Linked DNA regions of Homo sapiens: regions 2 and 3 are each linked to region 1. Evidence: promoter capture Hi-C in 16 types of primary human blood cells and fetal thymus (Javierre and others, 2016). All regions are on one chromosome and are shown on one strand. Each heading gives the region's core, a stretch centred on a gene start or on the middle of the fragment in contact. The rest is flanking DNA. Distances are from core to core; before and after follow the strand shown. Region 1 holds the start of ST3GAL4 (ST3 beta-galactoside alpha-2,3-sialyltransferase 4). Region 2 overlaps RPUSD4 (RNA pseudouridine synthase D4). Region 3 overlaps KIRREL3 (kirre like nephrin family adhesion molecule 3).

Evidence for each region. Contacts are between HindIII fragments. The CHiCAGO score rates a contact against its expected background, and 5 or more counts as called.
Region 2: a fragment that was not itself captured here is called in contact with the fragment with the promoter of ST3GAL4 in region 1 in 1 of 17 cell types (neutrophils); the score reaches 9.4 in neutrophils.
Region 3: a fragment that was not itself captured here is called in contact with the fragment with the promoter of ST3GAL4 in region 1 in 1 of 17 cell types (neutrophils); the score reaches 8.4 in neutrophils.

The regions. Positions count from the first base shown.
Region 1 is chr11:126,354,432-126,356,942 of GRCh38, forward strand. It overlaps ST3GAL4 (ST3 beta-galactoside alpha-2,3-sialyltransferase 4), which reads left to right and starts at 1,255. Exons shown (of 11, transcript NM_001254757.2): 1 at 1,255-1,411. It overlaps GSEC (G-quadruplex forming sequence containing lncRNA), which reads right to left and starts at 1,156. Exons shown (of 2, transcript NR_033839.1): 1 at 1,011-1,156. RefSeq lists enhancers at 147-890, 891-1,632, 1,633-2,376, 2,064-2,213 and a silencer at 1,094-1,473. The HindIII fragment of the contact is 3,511 bases long and covers 382-2,511 here.
Region 2 is chr11:126,205,333-126,207,843 of GRCh38, forward strand. RPUSD4 (RNA pseudouridine synthase D4) reads right to left here. Exons shown (of 7, transcript NM_032795.3): 4 at 356-449; 5 at 136-280. Among named protein-coding and RNA genes, the nearest start is that of RPUSD4, 5.1 kb to the right of the region's middle. The HindIII fragment of the contact is 1,248 bases long and covers 627-1,874 here.
Region 3 is chr11:126,483,094-126,485,604 of GRCh38, forward strand. All of the region lies in intron 4 of KIRREL3 (kirre like nephrin family adhesion molecule 3), which reads right to left. Among named protein-coding and RNA genes, the nearest start is that of KIRREL3-AS1, 59 kb to the right of the region's middle. The HindIII fragment of the contact is 6,543 bases long and covers 1-2,511 here.

The DNA of each region.
Region 1 (2,511 bases), core at 5-2,504:
TAAATAAATAAATAGTTGTTGAATGCATGTCTGACTGATTAAGCCAAAGGCACCATATTCAAACAAAATCAGACACTGGTGCAATGCCAAACAGCTTCTGCCCGTGCAAGGAATGATTTAGCATGGAGCACAGTCACCTGCAGAGGAACAACTTGGAGGCAGACTCTCCTTACTCAGCTCACTTGGAGCAGAGCTTCCTGAGTTGGGGGTTCTTGACAGATAAGCCCTCCAGCTTCAGCAGAAGCAGGCTTGGAGCTGCCACTTCTCTGAACCCCCTTGCACTTACTGTCAGTCACTCACACCTTGCACTTATTCACATCCTATCCTGCCTCGTTCTTGAATGGAGTCCATGGTGAGCCTTCTCTGTGCCGCTGGATGGTAAGCTTCCTGGGGACAGGGAATGGGTCTGATAGTTTCCTTGGAGCCCCTGGCGCTCCCGGCACTGGGCTGTTGATACGTGGGGCTCCGGAAACACTGTGCTGACCTGTGAAAGGGACTGGCCTAAGGGGCTGTGGATTGTCCTGTAGGGTGACTTCTGAACTGTTCTTCAGCCTGGGCAGTTCCCAGGTTTATTTGGGGGGATGCCTGGGTCCAAAGAACCAGGGTCAGGGGCCCAGGGGTTTCTTCCTGGAGACAGGATGCCTGGCGCCTTCAATAACGGAAAGGAAACTGAGAAACTTTCTGAGGCCAAGATAAAGAGTATGCAAGTGAGGGGTGCAGAGAGAGCAGTTTAGGGGCAGCAGGCCCCAACCGAAGCAGAGGAAGGGCCCACGTCTGGGCCCAGGGGACTGACTGGCTGCCTTGCGTGCATGGGGCACGGGAAGCATAGGCTCCCGGAACAGGACCCTGCCCCAGTTTCCCCAGTGAGGGAAGGACACCGTTCCCCGTGGGATAGAGCACTGCACCCTTTCTTGATTCTCATTGTTCCCGGGAGCGAGCGCCTTGGCTGCGCTGGGCATACCCACCCTGGCGCCATTCACAGGCAGTGCCTGCCCTGGCCCTGTGCTCACCCCATCAGGCCTCCTCTTCCGCCTCTCTGGCACCCACGGCGCCCCTGCTTGCCTCTGTCCGGGTCTCGGAGGCGCGAACACCATCCCAAGCCTGCGACCGCGCGGCATCACCCCCGCCCTTCCCCCTCCTCCACCCCGCCCTTTCTACCCCTCCCGGGAGCTCCTGGGAGTCGGGCCGCCGTGTGCGCAAGCGTGTCCAGCCCCTTCCCCGCCCCCAACCCGGGCCCGGGTCCCCGCCTCCCCTGCAGGCGGACTCGCCCGCTCCCAGGCCGGACCCGCGCCCGGGACAGGGACCCGGCCGAGTCGAGCCGTCGCGCCAGCGCTGCGCCGCCGGTCGGTGCGCCTAGCGGATCGGAGCTGCGCGCGGAACCGTGCTGCCCCGCCCCGCTCCACCCGTGAGGGTGAGTACGCGGCGGCGGTGCGCGGGGGCCCGCGGGGCGGGGCGGGGCGGGGAGCCGCGGGGTCCTCGGCCGCCTGACCCCAGCCGGCGCCGCGCCTCCCGGAGGGGGTCGGGCCCTGCACGTGGGCGCAGCGCGGGTCGGGGTGGGGCTGCCACAGCCCTGCGGAGCTGCTTTCCGGGGTCCCTTTCCCTGGACCAGATTTTCGCGGGAAGCCGGATCCTCTCCGTTCCCTTGGAGTGAGCAAGCGGGACAGTTCTGCGGAAAGTTTCCGCCCCCAATCCCCCAGCCCTGCGCCCGGACTGAAGCGGCGGCCCCCACCTCCAGCATCCTCGAGCGATGGTTTCTCCCACAACTACCCCGGTCAGGTCCAGCACTTGGGAGCTGACTGTGCTGGAGGTGACAGGCTTTGCGGGGTCCGCCTGTGTGCAGGAGTCGCAAGGTCGCTGAGCAGGACCCAAAGGTGGAGTTGTCAGTGGGAGGCCGGCTGTGCCCAGGGTCCTAGGGCCACGTTATGGGGGTCGTCAGGCCTAGGCCACTGTGCCTCAGGGCTGCATGGGTGGTGAGCAGTGGGAGGGATGCGATGGGGGGAGTGGGCTCAGCTGTCTGCTGTGGGTGTTTCCTCGGGGACCTGGCTGGCAGGGACCTCCCGGCCAGCCCAGAACTGCCAACATGTCTGCCAGCACTGCCCCTCCATTCCCAGTCCTGGGGGGAGGCTCTGTCTGGGCAGCTTGAGGCCTGACCTACTGTGGCTGCTTCCTCTGCTCCCCAGCCTGGGTCCTGAGGGCCTGGCTTAAGGGAACTGCTGCCAGAAGGCTGGGAGTGTAGGCAGTGTTCGGGTGCCCAGCTGTGCCCTGTCTGACCTCATGGCCACCCACAAGCTGGCACCCCCCACAGGCCTCTTGGGGAAGCCTGTACTTTCCACCGCCGGAGGCGGGTACCGCGTGGAAGCCAGGCTCAGGCGGACTCATTCTTTTTGAACTTTGGGAACAGGCCTGGTACAGGCTGAGTTCTCACAAGAGACACACACCCGTGTCACTGTCTCCTGAGCTGTGCCGGACCCGTCCTACAGACTCCACCTCCTCTAGGTCCTGGCCCTGGCA
Region 2 (2,511 bases), core at 1-2,500, 150 kb before region 1:
CCCGGCCTCAGATCAGCACCAGAAGCACATTCTCACACAAGTCAGCCACACTACTAGCTGCTCAGAACGAGGCCCTGGACAAAACCTGGTGGCACAGGGTTTTGTGATCCCACTGCGGAAAAGTGACACTCTCACCAGTGATGGGCTGGAGCTCCACGAGGGCGGAGGAGAGAGTGCTGCTGAGCACCTGGTACTGAGTTACAGCAACTTGCGCATTCCGGCTGCGCCGCACTTTCACCATTTTCCCATCGTCCATGCGGTAGCTCGGGGACAATGTCATCTGAAGCCAAAGAAATCAAGATATGATTCCCAAGGAAGAGCAGCAACCCATGCCTCAGGGAGGCTGCTCGCTCACCTTGTGGTGTTGCTGCTGGCCTTGCGCCTCCTTCTCCACAATGGGGATGTCCACGACTCCTGCTGAGGGCATGGGGACATGCACAGTGATGGCCCTGGGGGTGACACAGATCACTGCTTTAGCCAACCAAGCCAGAGAAGAACTCCTAGATTTGGCCACTTAGAGGATTTCACGCTGGACCTTCTGCACTAACATGTGATTTCTTATGATTGAAGGATCGTGCAAGATTCTCTTGGTGTAATGCTTAGCCTGAGAGCTGATAGATTTCACAAGCTTATCTTTTTTACTACTAAAGTCATACATGCTAATTGTAGAATATTTGGGGTAAAAAAAGAAAAAAATTACATTAATAACATGGTCTTTCCAGTCTTTAAAAATGGATATGTACAGTTAAAATAAAATTATGGTAATATAGTTTTGTATTTTTTTTCAAATAATAAAAGATTGTAGATTCTGACTGCATGGTAAATGAACAAATGAATAATTGGATGAATGAACCTAATAAAACATTCAGAGAACCGTTCCTGGCTCATTTGCCACATAGGTAAAACAGGAGGGAACTGTACCCGAAGAAGTCACAGGGGACAGGCGTGGTGGCTCACACATGTAATCCCAATACTTTGGGAGGCCAAGGCGGGTGGATCACTTCAGGTCAGGAGTTCAAGACCAGCCTGGCCAACATGGTGAAACCCCATCTCTACTAAAAATACAAAAAAAAAATCAGCCAGGCGTGGTGGCGCGTGCCTGTAATTCCAGCTACTTGGGAGGCTGAGGCATGAGAATCGCTTGAATCCAGGAGGTGGAGGTTGCAGTGGGCCAAGATTATGCCACTGCACTCCAGCCTGGGAGACACAGCAAGACTCCGTCTAAAAAAAGAAAGAAAGAAGTCATAGGTACCACAACCACAACTCAATAACTCATTCCAAATCACTTCTGTTGGTGTTCTCCCTCCCATGACCTCATGACCTCACAGACAGGTAGAAGACTGTTTAATCTGTCTGTAAATTTATGCCTCTTTCAGGTCAATGATGGAAAAGTCCATCTGGGTACCTGGTGGTCGGTTGTATAATCACTAACCACGGGGTCAAAATCCTACTCACACACACTATTTCACAACGCAGACACTCCACTTCAGTTTCAGCTACTATCTGGTACATTTTATCGTATTTTACAGATTTTGTAGATCTTCTGTGACAAGAATGTCCTTCCTAATGATATGACACTACAACTCAAGAATGTTCCATCAGCAAGACCCAACTGATTGATTTCAATTCCTCCATGAACCTGATACCGAGAATGGTTACCAATTTTGAACCTTAATGGACATTTTTCACAAATAACATAACATGTATTTTATAGTCTTAATATTTTGATTGCTTGAATAGAAAAATAAGTCTCTATTTTTTATTTTTTAACTTTTCCTATGAACTAGGTACTGTGTTAAACATTTCACAAGAATCAATCTTATTTAACTATCTCATAAATCCTACTGTTTCCATTTTTCAGATGAAGAAAACAAAGCTTATGGACATTTAATAACCTGCCCAAGGCCCCACAGCTGTTAAATGACACAGTTGAGAGTTGAACACACATCTTTTTGAGGTCTTAGCTACTGTCCTAAATTCCTCCATTCTCCATAATCTTATCATAGTTCTTAAATTTGATTGTATATCAAATTTTAAAATACAGATGCCAATCCCCACAACCACCACACTTACGAATGAGAACTTCTGTGGGTAAGTCTCAATCATACATATTTTTAAAGGGCTCCTCAGATTCACAAAGTATCTGCAAAATCTGTAATCTAAAAAGGACTAACATTCAAAATATAAAATGAATACTTACAAATCAAATAGAAAAGAATAAACAACCTGGGCCAGACACAGTGGCTCACGCCTGTGAGCTGTAAGCGCTGTAATCCTAGCACTTTGATGGACAGATCACTTTAGGTCAGGGGTTCAAGACCAGCCTGGCCAACAGGCTGAAACCCCATCTCTACTAAAAATACAAAAATTAGCTGGGCATGGTGGCATGTGCCTGTAATTCCAGCTAGCTGAAACATGAGAACCACTTGAACCAGGGAGGAGGTTGCAGTGAGCCAAGATTGTGCCACTGCCCTCCAGCCTGGGTGACACAGCAAGACTCCATCTCAAAAA
Region 3 (2,511 bases), core at 5-2,504, 130 kb after region 1:
TGAGATCCTCATTCCAGAGGGATCCTGCCCTATACTCAGAGGAAAGAAACGGTGTACAGGAACTCAAAGAGGAATGCAGGCAAGGCCTTGCTAAGTTCTTCTGGTTTGTTACCATGAGGTCATACCCCCTTTTTTGTCCAATCACATTTCTGCACAACTGCCCATTCTTTGTTGAACATAAGCCTACAAATACACAATTTTCCCATGGCATTTGGGCCTTCATTTCTGAAAGCTCACATAAAACTTTGGTTAAATACATCTGTTGCACTTTTCTCTTCTTAATCTATCGTTTGTTACACGGGTGTCAGCTGCAAACCTTGTAATGGATGAGGAAAATATATTACTTTTTCTCCCCTGCAGCAGCAAAAGCTAACTGATGTAACCCAGTAGTCCCCTGCTGTTTGATTCAGAACTGGGCCCACGGCATCAACTGTCTCTCCACTTCCCTCCGATCCATTCTCCCTCCACTATGGCCAGGTGACTGTTCTGGAAGCTCGGTCTGCTGCTCACAATGTTCAATGGTTCCCACTGCTCCAGCACAAAAATCAATTCCTCATCATGGGGGCCTTCCCCGGTTCTCTCCAGTGAGGTCTCATCTCTGCAGCTTTCTCCTGTGTGACCATTAACTCTTCTGTGAGGATAGCCTGCCCTTTTACAAATACACGCTTTGGCTTGTGAAGTTCCCTTTGCTGGGAATCTCCTTGCCTGAGTCTTAACTGGCTGGAATCCCAGCCTCTTTTCAATCAGCTCAAAGGCCTATCATGCCTTGTTAACTCTTGGTTATTCTTTAAGACTCAGGCTATTGTCACCTCCTCCACAAAGTCTTCTCTCAATCTCAACCCCTGACTCTCCCACCTGCAGCCTCTGCACTGCCATAAGACCATGTGCCCGCCTCAGCAGGTACATGTGGTGCCTGGCGCCATTACCACCTGTTGTTCCCCTGAGGCTGTGAGCTCCTTGAGGGCTGGTCCTTGCCAAATTCTCTCTCTAGTACTTAGTACAGTGCCTGGCATAGTGAGCACTTAATAAATACTTGTTGCCTGGTGCCTTGCCTGATCCCACTGAATTAGAAGCCCCCTCCCCACCTGAGCACCTCTTACACTGGTCCTCACCACATCTCTATTGCATTGACTTGTGGACCTGTTTCAGGTTCCCTACAGTTGCAGGGTAGGAGTCCTGGCGCCTCTTTGCCTGTCTCCCATTGCCTAGTATGTTACCTTGGATGCAGTCATAAAAAAACAGCACCAATAATATGAATAATAGCTAACATTGATATAGGGCTTACCACACAGCAAGAACTCTTCTGTGTACTTTACAAATATCCTTTAATCCTCACAGCTCTATATAAGGTAGATACAATGACGATGCATATTTTGGAGGTGAGGAAACAGCCACAAAGTAGTCAAGTTACTTGCCCAACATCACATAGCTAGTAAGCAGCAGAGCTGGGATATGGGTAGGGTTTCCAGACTTAACAAATCAAAGAACAGTAGGCCCTGTTAAATGTAAATTTCAGATAAATTAAAAAATGGTAGTGTAAGTATGTTTATCTGAAATTCACATTTAACAGGGAATCCTGTATTTTATCTGGCAATCCTGTAGATGTGTTAATTACATATATGTGATTTAATTAATGTAGGTGTGCTTTCCCCCTCTTCAGACCCTCCCCGCCTCCACTTAGGTCTATATTAAGAAGATGTGGGGCAAGATGCAAATGGGATTTTTTTTTTTTTTTTTCTGAGACGGAGTCTCGCTCTTGTCACCCAGGCTGGAGTGCAATGGCACAATGTAGGCTCACTGCAGCCTCCGCCTCCCAGGTTCAAGCGATTCTCCTGCCTCAGCCTTTTAAATAGCTGGGATTACAGGCACCTGCCACCACGCCTGGCTGATATTTTTTGGTACTTTTGGTGGAGACGGGGTTTCGTCATGTTGGCCAGGCTGGTCTCAAACGCCTGACCTCAGGTGATCCGCCCACCTTAGCCTCCAAAGTGCTGGGATTACAGCTGTGAGCCACTGCGCCCGGCCACAAGTGGGATTGTTAAAGGATGTGGCATCCGATATATTTGGCAGCACAATCGCACAGACGTGTCTCCAAGGAGGTTGGGGACAGAGAGAAAAGAGGAACAAGGAGCAAGACGCAGGTTTAGGATGATGGCATGTAGCTCAGAGGAAGGTGTGCTGGAGGCTGTTTCAGTTCTGCTCCTAACCTGGGGGTGGGGGGAACCCTGAACTAGCTGACTTCAGAGGTCCCCTGCAAAGGTTTGGGACACTGGGAAGCCCACTTCTCAGCTGGAGCTCATATTGTTTAGGGGATAAGAAGGGAGGCCCTGAAGTCAGAGTGCCTGGCTGGGCTTCTGGCTCCGTCATTCACTGGCCACGTGACCATGTGCAAATTCTCTGTGCTGGATGATGTTAATGTCATAGATATTATAGTAGCTGTTGTACAGGGCTGGTGTGCTGTTTAAATGAGTTCATGTAAGAGTTATGCAGTGTCTTGTCCCAGAGCTTGGC